Linked DNA regions of Homo sapiens: all the other regions are linked to region 2. The links are contacts of gene promoters, found by promoter capture Hi-C in human tissues and cell types (Jung and others, 2019). All regions are on one chromosome and are shown on one strand. The core of a region is centred on a gene start or on the middle of the fragment in contact, and the rest is flanking DNA. Distances in the headings are between cores, read along the strand shown. Region 1 holds the start of CARD10 (caspase recruitment domain family member 10). Region 2 holds the start of LGALS1 (galectin 1). Region 3 holds the start of GALR3 (galanin receptor 3). Region 4 has its middle 19 kb from the start of CARD10.

Evidence for each region. Contacts are between HindIII fragments. The study calls those that stand out against the background at their distance.
Region 1: the fragment with the promoter of CARD10 here is called in contact with the fragment with the promoter of LGALS1 in region 2 in 1 of the 25 tissues and cell types used here (mesendoderm cells).
Region 3: a contact is called between the fragment with the promoter of GALR3 here and the fragment with the promoter of LGALS1 in region 2, in 2 of the 25 tissues and cell types used here (bladder and dorsolateral prefrontal cortex).
Region 4: a contact is called between a fragment that was not itself captured here and the fragment with the promoter of LGALS1 in region 2, in 1 of the 25 tissues and cell types used here (mesenchymal stem cells).

The regions. Positions count from the first base shown.
Region 1 is chr22:37,517,991-37,520,690 of GRCh38, forward strand. CARD10 (caspase recruitment domain family member 10) reads right to left here and starts at 1,425. Exons shown (of 20, transcript NM_014550.4): 1 at 976-1,425; 2 at 1-118. The coding sequence starts at 1,210. The HindIII fragment of the contact is 30,090 bases long and covers 1-2,700 here.
Region 2 is chr22:37,674,190-37,676,889 of GRCh38, forward strand. LGALS1 (galectin 1) reads left to right here and starts at 1,447. Exons shown (of 4, transcript NM_002305.4): 1 at 1,447-1,522. The coding sequence starts at 1,514. RefSeq lists a silencer at 1,250-1,389. The HindIII fragment of the contact is 16,498 bases long and covers 1-2,700 here.
Region 3 is chr22:37,822,042-37,824,741 of GRCh38, forward strand. GALR3 (galanin receptor 3) reads left to right here and starts at 1,341. Exons shown (of 2, transcript NM_003614.2): 1 at 1,341-1,724; 2 at 2,682-2,700. The coding sequence starts at 1,366. The HindIII fragment of the contact is 28,947 bases long and covers 1-2,700 here.
Region 4 is chr22:37,537,336-37,540,035 of GRCh38, forward strand. No RefSeq gene overlaps it. Among named protein-coding and RNA genes, the nearest start is that of CARD10, 19 kb to the left of the region's middle. RefSeq lists enhancers at 613-822, 929-1,430, 1,431-1,930 and a silencer at 1,549-1,738. The HindIII fragment of the contact is 4,240 bases long and covers 1-2,700 here.

The DNA of each region.
Region 1 (2,700 bases), core at 175-2,674, 160 kb before region 2:
TGGGCGGGTTCCTGGCCCGTGAGCAGCGTGAAGTGTTCGGGGTAGTAGAACTCCAGGGCTTCCAGGAAGGCCTCATAGCCCCTCTTGCCACGGCAGCGCAAGATGTCCATCAGGCGCCCTACAGAGTAGTGGGGGGATGTACCCAGGGTCTAGGGGAAGGCCTCCCCAGGTGCCTGGTTGCTTCTGCCCCCACCATGCTCCAGGCCCACGTTCCCCAGATTTTTGAGCCAGTGACACACACAGGGGCCTGTCCCAACACATCAGGGAAGAGAAGAGAGCCATTCTGCCACAGCCAGGGGAGCACATTCCCTCATGACTCCTGGGCTCCCAGAGCTCCCCAACACCCCCCACAGACACAGATGCCGGCCCGCAAATGCAGCCTGCCTTTTCAATGGCACAGAGAAGCCCCCTCTATCCCCAGAAGCAAAGAAAATACTTCTCCCATTGGCCATGCCTGAAATTCCACCATTAAAGACCATTCCATCATGCCTTTTTGAGTTCTGGTTCAAAGGCACACCCTGTGGGAGTGGGGACCCACGTAAAGCTGAGACGGATCTTGACACTTGAAAAAGGACTCCCCCAGGAGTGTATGGTGCACAGAGGAGGGGACAGACAGAACTCGGAGATCAAAGAGCGCAGGAAAGGTGCCAAGTCCACCGGCTGTGACCGGGAGGTCCCAGGCCCAGCCGGCCCTGGCAGCCACATCCAACCTTCTGCTCTAATGTGGACCCAGGAAGTGGGAGAGAACCCCAAGAGACAAAACTCTGACCCCGGTGTGGGCAACGCGGACCGCCAAGGCGCAGTGGTGGGTGGGGAGGAGGCAGGCTGGTGGGCATACCCAGCCGGCCCACTCTACTGATGCGGAGACCGAGCCCCAGGGCAGCAGAGCCCTAGCTTCGCGCTACACGGCTGTGGGCGCTGCGCCCCAGGGCACGGCCGGCCCAGGTCGTGGCCCACTCGGGACCCGCGGCTCACCGGTGCGGTTGACGCGGCACGGGAAGCGGTAGGTGCTCAGCACCTCCTCCTCGTCCTGCTCGTCGATGACCCGGCACTGGCGCAGATACGGCGTGAGCTTGGCCGGGTTCAGGGCGCGAGCCAGCCGATGCCGGACGCCCTCGATTCGCTCCCACAGCGCGTCCTCCTCCGCCTCAGACCCCGAGCCGGCCCCGGCCTCCTCCTCGGCCTCCCCCGCCTCCGCCCGGCCCGGCATGGCCGTGTCCTCAGGGTCTGCGGGCAAGAGGCGCACGGGGGTCGACCAGGGCTCCCTAGGGCTAGATGTGCGGCCAAGCACCCCCGGGGCGTCGTCCGCAGACCCGCCGTCGGGGGCGCGCCCCGAGCTCCCCGCGACTCACCCCGCACGCTACAGTCGCCTCGGGCTCCCGGGTCCGCACTCGGGCGGCGGCTCCGCCGGCGCAGGGGGGCGGTGCCCGTGGCGCCCCCGGCTCCGCCCCCGTCCCCGCAGCCTCCTGGGCTGCCCGGGCCTCCCCACATTGCCGCCCGCCCCGGGTCGTGCGTCCGGCCCCCGGCCACCCCGCGCGTCCGTCTGCACGCCCTCCCTCCCGGCCGTCCGGCTGCGCCTCCCCCTGCTTCCTGTTTCCCGCCGGCTCTCCAGCCCGGCTCGGCGGGGTCCTGGCCGCCCGCCCACACCTGCCCGGCCTCTGGGCGGGGCGGGGGCGGGCAGGCGCGCTCACACCCCCCGCGCGCCGCGACACACCTTCCCCGGGCCACGCGCATCGCCTCCCCACGCCCACAGCGCGCCCGCCCGTGCGGGGCTAGCCGCTCACGCCCGGCGCAGCCCGCGGGCACTCAAGCTGGGCTTGCCCTTCTCGGGTCCCCACATGCACTGCGGGCGCGGGAGCTTCCCTGGAGCGCAGGACAGCCCCGCGGGGGACAGCAATGGGCAGAGGTCATGGGGGCTTTCTGCAAGATGGGGGTCTGAACCTGCAGGGCAGCACTGCCAACTCCCCTCTTACGCAAACTCCCGTGGCACTTGAGGACCAGGGACCCCACAATTCTCAAAGGGTATTCCTCCAGGTGTTGGTCCCAGAGATGCTGGGGGCGGGCTGTGACTAGCCATCCATACTCCCGCTCCTGCCTGGGAGGCCGGTGGTGTCTTACCATGATACTGGCCGAGTCTACACGGTATCTGCTGGTGCATGCGATACAGTCTCGCTATGCATTAGAAGCTGCCAGGTACCTGCTGCCAGGGAGGAACAGAGGAGGCACAACCGGTACAGGAAAGAGGTGTGAGCTCCCTAATCGCCTTCCACAACTTCTGAATTAGATGCCGTGGACATATGTATTACTTATCCAAAGAATTAAGGTTTCAATCAATAAAGGCTCTGAAAAGCCCTGCTTAAATTAAGGCCGGGGGCGGTGGCTCATGCCTGGAATCCCGACACTTTGGGAGACCGAGGCGAGTGGATCACCTGAGGTCAGGAGTTCGAGACCAGCCTGACCAATATGGCGAAACCCCATCTCTACTAAAAATATAAAAATTAGCTAGACGTGGTAGTGCGCGTCTGTAATCCCAGCTACTCGGGAGGCTGAGGCACGAGAATCGCTTGAACCCAGGAGGCGGAGGTTGCAGTGATATCGTGCCACTGCACTCCAGCAGCCCGGGCAACAGAATGAGACTCCCCCTCAAAAAAAAAAAAAAAAAAAAAAAAAGCCCCAGCAGTAAAGAAACAGATTTAACTT
Region 2 (2,700 bases), core at 197-2,696:
TTTGTATTTTTAGTAGAGATGGGGTTTCTCCGTGTTGGTCAGGCTAGTCTCGAACTCCTAACCTTAGGTGATCCGCCCGCCTCGGCTTCCTAAAGAGCTGGGATTACCGGCGTGAGCCACTGCGCCCAGCCCATCATCTACTTCTTAACGTGGTTGTGGTCAGATTCCACCCCAACTATGCGCTCCTTGAGAGTGGGGACTGGGAGGGGTTCAGCTTTGAATCCTCAGAGCCCAGGGCCAGGTACATAGTAGGTGCTCAGTAAAATACCTGCTGAACACTCAGGGAAGGGAGGGCTGTGCCGGGCCTCAGAGGAGATGTTAAGAGAGCAGACAGGGTGGCCAGGCATGGTGGCTCACACCTGTAATCCCATTACTTTGGGAGGCTGAGGCGGGTGGATCAACTGAGGTCAGGAGTTTGAGACCAGCCTGGCCAACGTGGTGAAACCCCGTCTCTACTAAAAGTACATAAATTAGCCGGGTGTGGTGGTGGGGGCCTGTAGTCCCAGCTACTCGGGAGGCTGAGGCAGGAGAATCAGTTGAACCTGGGAGGCAGAGGTTGCAGTGAGCTGAGATCACGCCACTGCACTCCAGCCTGGGCGACAGAGCGAGACTCCATCTCAAAAATAAATATATAAATAAATAAAAATAAAAAAGAGAAAGGACAGGGTGCACAGAGCCAGGACCCCACCCCCTCCTGGTCTGGACCACCCTGGGCCATCTCCTAAGCTTGACACTCTCAGGCCTGAGGCTGTCAGGCCAGGGCGCTTTGACTATCCCCTGCCTGCCCCTGAACGCGGCCAAGCCCGAGGCCTTAGCCAAGCCCTGCAGCCTCAGGCTTGGCGCCCGGCCCAGCCTTTCTTTAGCCTTCCCGAGGAGCCAGCGAGAGAGCGCTGCAGCAGCCGCAGTCCTTGCTTCCGGGGAAGGCCCGGGTGGGGCCAGGGCCTGTGGTTAAGTCAGTGGCCCTCTGCAGACGCGCACGCAGCAGGAGCCACGCCCTGGTCCCTGCCCGGGAGTGGCCTGGTCTCCCCCAGCTCTGATTCCCTGAAGGACCCTGCACCTCCTCAGCCATCTTCTCTGGGCACCCCCTGAGCCCAGCCTGCTGGCCACAGGCCCCTTCCCGCCAACTTGTGGGCCTAGCTCATCATCAAACTATTTTCCACTGGCTTCCCCCAATCTCTGCCACAGCACAATTTTGGTGGGGAGGTGGAGAGGGATGAAGGAGAATAGGAGGTGGAGCTTGGACTCTGGCCGGGGGCGGCGGGGTGAGGGGGGGCAGCAGCTCGCCACTCTGATTGGTCACCTCTGCTCCAAAACTGGCTTCAAAATTCCACGGACTCCGCCCCCAGTGGCCCCCAGCCCTATCCTGACTTGCAATTGGCTGAACTTTCAGGGGGCGGGGCTCACCCGGTCCGGTCCAGTTAAAAGGGTGGGAGCGTCCGGGGGCCCATCTCTCTCGGGTGGAGTCTTCTGACAGCTGGTGCGCCTGCCCGGGAACATCCTCCTGGACTCAATCATGGCTTGTGTGAGTGTGGGGACCCCCCCCCAAGGTCCAGGGGATAGGGCAGGAACTGATGGCCAGAGGAGAGCTGGGCAGATCGGGAGCAGATTCTAGCCCCAGCTGTGTGGCCTGGAACCAGTGCCTTCTCTTTTCTGGACCTCAGTGGCCACATCTGTAAAATGGGGGTGGGCGCCATGGTCCCTCAAGGCCTTCTCTGCATTGATAATTGTCTGGATTCCTCCAGGGTCTGAAAGCACAGTTATTTCTGCCCAGGGTTGACATTCTGCAGCTCTCTGAGAAGTGAGCGTGGGAAGGGTGTGGCCAACTGGGGGACACCCAGGCCACTATCCCTTTCCCCCTCCTCCACCCCAAAGAGCCTCCTGTCCCCTCCCCCCTGCAGCTGTCCCGGTCACCAGGCCAGGGCAGAGTTACCCTCTGCTCCAGAGAACGCTGAAAAGTTGCCAGGACCCGAGACAAGCTGCCCAGGATGGGCCCTTCTAGGTCGGGGGTGGAGGGTGGTTGTGTCCAGGCTGGTGGCGGGGGGGGCGGGGGAAATTCCCTTCCACCACCCCCAAGCTGGGAGGTTGGGGTGGCAGGGAGGTGAGAATCTTCCTCGGGCCCCAGGGAAAGGGTTCAAGTTTCTGGCAGAAGAAACCACTCAAACCAGTTAACTCTTGCCCACCCACTCGGGGTGCCAGGGAACAGCAGTGCCCAGCAGTTTGCTCAATCTTGTTAACCCTGAGCCAGCCCAGCCACAGCCCGACTGCAGGGCTATTCTCCCTAATGCAGAGAGGCCGTGTTTTTCAGGGTCTCCTCTCTAGCCCCTGGGCCTCTTTGCAGAGAGGGGCTTGAAGGAGAATAGTGGGGTCGCCCGCCCCTAGCCACTTCCTCTCCAGCAGAGGGGCCGGCCCCTCCATTCAGTGTGACGGTGGGCCAAGTGTCGGCCCCTCCCCAGCCTGATCCTCTCCATCTGCGATGGGACAGAGCACCCCATCTCCCAAGTCACTCTTGAGTCCAAAATTCCCAAGCCAATCTGCAAAATCTTCTAGAGCCTGTCTTCTAGAACCTTCACGTTACAGACTGAAGCCAACCCCGGTGGGAATAGGGACTTTCCCAGGACCACATAGACAATCGGAGGCTGGAAATTACAGCTCAATCCTTTCCCCAGGCTTCCCCTTGGCTTGGTCAGAGGATGCCGGGCG
Region 3 (2,700 bases), core at 91-2,590, 150 kb after region 2:
CAGGGATAGGGGATGGAGTCACATCAGGCTGGGCCACAGGAGGTGGGAGTGCCAGAGACTGGCTGGGCCCTGGGCACAGAGGGGTTAACTACAAAGCAAATCACAGAGAGCGAGATCAATGGGTTACTGGCTGCAGAGAGAGGAAAAGGCAGCAGCAACGCAGAGAGGCAGAGAAGAGCCAGGCAGAAGAGCCTGCCACCTGGGGGAAATCAGGGACTGAGGAGGAAGTGGCCAGTGGCTACTCCAGAGGGAGTGCCCAACTCCGGCTCAGCAGAGGGGGCAGAGGAGAGGAGGGGCCTTAAAGGCAAAGGGGGAGAAGTAGAAGGCAGACCAGTACCTGCAGGGAGGCACCAAGGGGCAGCCGCTGAATCAGGAGGCCCACCCAGCCCGGCCATTCCACCCAGGATCAAGCCCACTGCCCAAGGCGGAGGTGGGTGTTGCCCATCCTGGGCTTTGGGGACCTACTGCATGCTGGGTGCTGGGATGGGGGCAGACATTGCCTTTCTTCCCTACTCCCTGCCTGACCCCCCTTTCCCCTACTTTGTCCCACCACCCCAGTGGTCTCAAGCCTGCAAGGAGATCCACAGGCAGTAGGAGACATGGGCTGTAGAGTGGGATGGGGGTGAGCATGGGTGCGGTGTGCACACACACAAGTTGTCAGAGGCACCACCTGTTACAAGCTCTCAGATGAGCACTCTAGCTTAAGAGGCAGGATACCAGGGTGGCAACAGCCCCAGAGCTGCCATTTCGAGTGTGATATTATCCTCCCATGTCCCCTCTCTGGGCCTCAATTTCCCTATGTGCAGAGAGGAAGCAGTGACCTACACGGTCTTCCCAGTTTTGCCATTGTGATGATCTCACTATACTGGACCCTCCAATGACTCAGGGATGTTACCCGTGTTTTGCTAAGGCTACAGCTTGTAGCCAGAGAAAGCCCTAAACCCATGTCCCAGGGTCTCCCCTGAGCTTCAGATCCCCATTGAGAAGGAAAACATACCAGTTTCTGGGTTTGGCCCCTCCCCCCATCGCCATATCTTCATCCTACTTCGCTTGTGCCTTCCCCAGCCTCGTGGGTTGAAAGTGTCCCTCAAATACCTAGGTAGTCCTCCAGGCAGGACTCCAGGGGTGTTCCTTAGGAAACTGAGGAACTCTCACCCCTTGAACACCACGAGCTTGCTCACACAGTGACACTCAGCGATGACTTTGGCTCTGCTCTCCCCTCCTCCATCTCCCACGAGCTTCCAGCCCAGAACACCTGGCCAGACCCAGGTCGGGGGAGTTAGATCCCGGGGTCAAGCAACCAGAACTGGGGGCTCTTGCCTGAGGATTCCAGCTTCTCTTCCCAGGTGCCCGTCTGATGGGGAGATGGCTGATGCCCAGAACATTTCACTGGACAGCCCAGGGAGTGTGGGGGCCGTGGCAGTGCCTGTGGTCTTTGCCCTAATCTTCCTGCTGGGCACAGTGGGCAATGGGCTGGTGCTGGCAGTGCTCCTGCAGCCTGGCCCGAGTGCCTGGCAGGAGCCTGGCAGCACCACGGACCTGTTCATCCTCAACCTGGCGGTGGCTGACCTCTGCTTCATCCTGTGCTGCGTGCCCTTCCAGGCCACCATCTACACGCTGGATGCCTGGCTCTTTGGGGCCCTCGTCTGCAAGGCCGTGCACCTGCTCATCTACCTCACCATGTACGCCAGCAGCTTTACGCTGGCTGCTGTCTCCGTGGACAGGTGCGCTGTGCCTGGGGCCTGGCTGGGCAGGGCTGTGGGGGCGGGGGTTGGGGGAGGAGTCCTGAACAGATCCTCACTGGCCTTAGGAAGGAGAGAGTGGGGGACCAGAAAGGGAGGTGGGTGGGAGGAAACAAAAGCTCCCTGACCCCTCGCAAGCAGCCTCTGGGCACCTGCAGGGCGTGCTTGAGGGGACTGTCCTGCCCTTCCCCTCCTCCACTGTGAACTTCCAGAGGACGCCTCTGAGTCTCAAGTGGCAGCACAGGGTCTGGCACATAGTAAGTGCTCTGTAAGCGCGAAATGAATCGCAAAAGAAGCTCACGAATGCGTTCATCAGTTTTTTTGTTTTGTTTTGTTTTGTTGTTTTTTTTTTTTGGATCTTGGCTCACTGCAACCTCTGCCTCCTGGGTTCCAGCGATTCTCCTGCCACAGCCTCCTGAGTAGCTGGGATTACAGGCCACCACACCTGGCTAATTTTTTGTATTTTTAGTAGAAACGGGGTTTTGCCATGTTGGACAGGCTGGTCTCGAACCCCTGACCTCAAGTGATCCGCCCGCCTCGGCCTCCCAAGTGCTGGGATTACAGGCGTGAGCCACCGCGCCCAGCCCAGCTATTTTCTAACTGCCCACACCTGGCCAAGCTGTGCACACATCTGCTTCCACAGCTTGAAACTTGGGGTCAAATCCAGGCTCACTCCAGCTGATGACCCTGGGCAAGTCACTTCTCTCTGGACCTCATCTGACGCATCCATAAAATAATCCTAGAAATAACAAGTCACCGGGATCGGGCCCTTGCTAGGTGCAAGGGCCTAAGCACCTTGCGCGTTCACACCCTTAATCCCCGCCACGTCCCCCACGGTTCACAGGAGGCGCACTGGGCCGCAGGGCCCGGGCGCGGGACGTGGCGCGGGCCCCTGCGGGAGGGCACCTGCCCGCCCCGCTGACCAGGCGCCCTCCGCAGGTACCTGGCCGTGCGGCAC
Region 4 (2,700 bases), core at 140-2,639, 140 kb before region 2:
GGAAAAAGACAGTAGAGAATTGTATATCGTATGCCACCATTTGCTTTTAAAAAGAAGTGGGGGAATGTGTGTGTGGTGTGTGTGTCTGCATATACTGTGTACATGTACATACATATATACATATATAAATCATCCCAGATCATCTCTGGGAGAATATGGAGGAAACTGCCATCAGTTATTGTTTTTCATTTATTTTTTATTTATTTATTTTATTTTTTTTTTTTTTTTGAGATGGAGTCTCGCTCTGTTGCCTAGGCTGGAGGGCCATGGTGCGATCTTGGCTCACTGTAACCTCCACCTCTCGGGTTCAAGCAATTTTCCCTGCCGCAGCCTCCTGAGGAGCTGGGATTACAGGCACCCCCCACCGCTACCACATCTGGCTAATTTTTGTATTTTTAGTAAGGGTTTCGCCGCATGGCCAGGCTGGTCTCAAACTCCTGACCTCAGGTGATCCGCCTGCCTCAGCCTCCCAAAGTGCTGGGATTACAGGCATGAGCCACGGTGCCAGGCCTTTTTTGTTTGTTTGTTTTAAATAGAGACAGGGTCTCACTATGTTGCCCAGGCTGGTCTCGAAGCCCTGGCCTCAAGTGAACCTCCTGCCTTGGCTTCCCCAAAGTACTGGGATTACAGGCGTGAGCCACTGCGCCCAGCCAGCTGTTGTCTTTTAGAGGGGAACTGGAGGCCTACATAAAGTTGGTTTCGTTTTCTTTTGTTTTTTGAGACAGAGTCTCACTCCATCGCCCAGGCTGAAGTGCAGTGGCACAATCTTGGCTCACTGCAACCTCCACCTCCCCGGTTCAAGCAATTCTCCTGCCTCAGCCTCCCGAGTAGCTGGGATTACAGGCATGCACCACCACAGCCGGCTAATTTTTGTATTTTTAGTAGAGACAGGGTTTCACCATATTGGCCAGGCTGGTCTCAAACTCCTGACCTCAAGTGATCCGCCCACCGTGGCTTCCCAAAGGGCTGGGATTACAGGCGTGAGCCACTGCACTCAGCCCTACGTAAAGTTTTAACCCAGTTAAGTATATTTTTTAAATCACTAAATAGTTCACACATATGCAAATGTTTAGAGAAAAACAATGAACACCAAAATATTCAAAAAGACTAATGTTTGGAAAGTACTCAGAATTGTATTCCCCAAAAATTCATTCCCCCAAGACCCACAGGCCTCAGGGGTCTGCAGGTCTCTCTCAGGGCCAGAGACGGGGAAGGGGCCACCTGGCAAGGGCGGTCCTTGGCACCTTCCCCCCTTTACAGAAGAGGTGTAGAGATGAGGGTCTCACTATGTTGCCCAAGCTGGTCTCGAACTACTGGGCTCAAGCAATCCTCCTGCGTCAGCTTCCCAATAGCAGGACACCCTGAGAAGTCTGAAGGCTCACGCCCAGACCCACGCACAGGTCTAGTTTTGGTCCACAGCATGGCGTGGGTGTGGCTTTGGAGTTGGCGGCAGCTGAAGGCTGGGTGACGTTAGCAAGGTCTCAGCCTCAGTCTCCTTATCTGAAAAACTGGATAGTAATTCCCTCTTTATACTGCGGCCATGAAGAAGAGGGCTGATGTGGGTGGAGTGACTGGTGGGGCAGGCGCTCTGTAAGTGGCTGTCAGCAGGGCAGGGGCTGGGCTCAAGCCTGTGACCACACTGCTCCAAGCTGGACACACGGTGGCGCCCTCGTCCCACAGGTGCAGCACCAGTTCTAGCCTCTGGTGGCATCGGTTACTGGAGGGAGGGAGGGAAGAAGAGAGGAACGGAGTTATATTTGCAAACACACTGCCCACTCTGGGCCCTAGGGGTGGAAAAGTGAATGAGGACCACACAGTTCCTACTCAAGGAGGCTGGATTGGAGGGGCTGGGAGCCCCAAGGAGGAGAGGAACGTGGGAGAGGGCACTGCCTGGGGATTTTGCAGTGGGTTGACTGGTGGCCCCCCTGCAAAAGACACGTCCACCTGGGACCAGGGAATACAGTCTTATTTGAAAAAAGAGTCTTTGCGAATGTAATGAAGATAAGAATCTCGGCCGGGCGCGGTGGCTCACTCCTGTAATCCCAGCACTTTGGGAGGCTGAGGCTGGCGGATCACCTGAGGTCAGGAGCTCAAGACAAGCTTGACCAACACAGCGAAACCCCCTCTCTACTAAAAATATAAATAAAAAATTAGCCAGGCGTAGTGGCGGATGCCTGTAATTCCAGCTACTTGGGAGGCTGAGGCAGGAGAATCGCTTGAACCCGGGAGGAGAGGGTTGCAGTGAGACCAGATTGCACCATTGCACGCCAGCCTGGGTGACAAGAACGAAACTCCATCTTAAAAAAAAAAAAAAGTAAGGATCTCAAGATGAGATCGTCCTGGATTATCCGTGGGGGGCCAAATCCACTGACAAGTGTCCTTACAAGAAGAGAAGATGCTGACACAGAGGGAGCTACACGGAAATGTCGGCAGAGGCAGGAGCGAGGCTGCCATAAGGCAAGGACACCTGGAGCCACCAGAAGCGGGAAGAGGCAAGGAAGGATTCTCCCCTAGCACCTTCAGAGGGAGCGGGGCCCCTCCAACACCTTGATTTCAGACTTCTGGATTCCAGAACTAATCATTTTTGTTTGTTTGTTTTTCAGTGACAGGGTCTTGCTCTATTGCCCAGGCTGGAGTGCAGTGGTGTGATCATAGCTCACTGCAGCCTTGACCTCCTGGGCTCAAGCGATTCTCCCACCT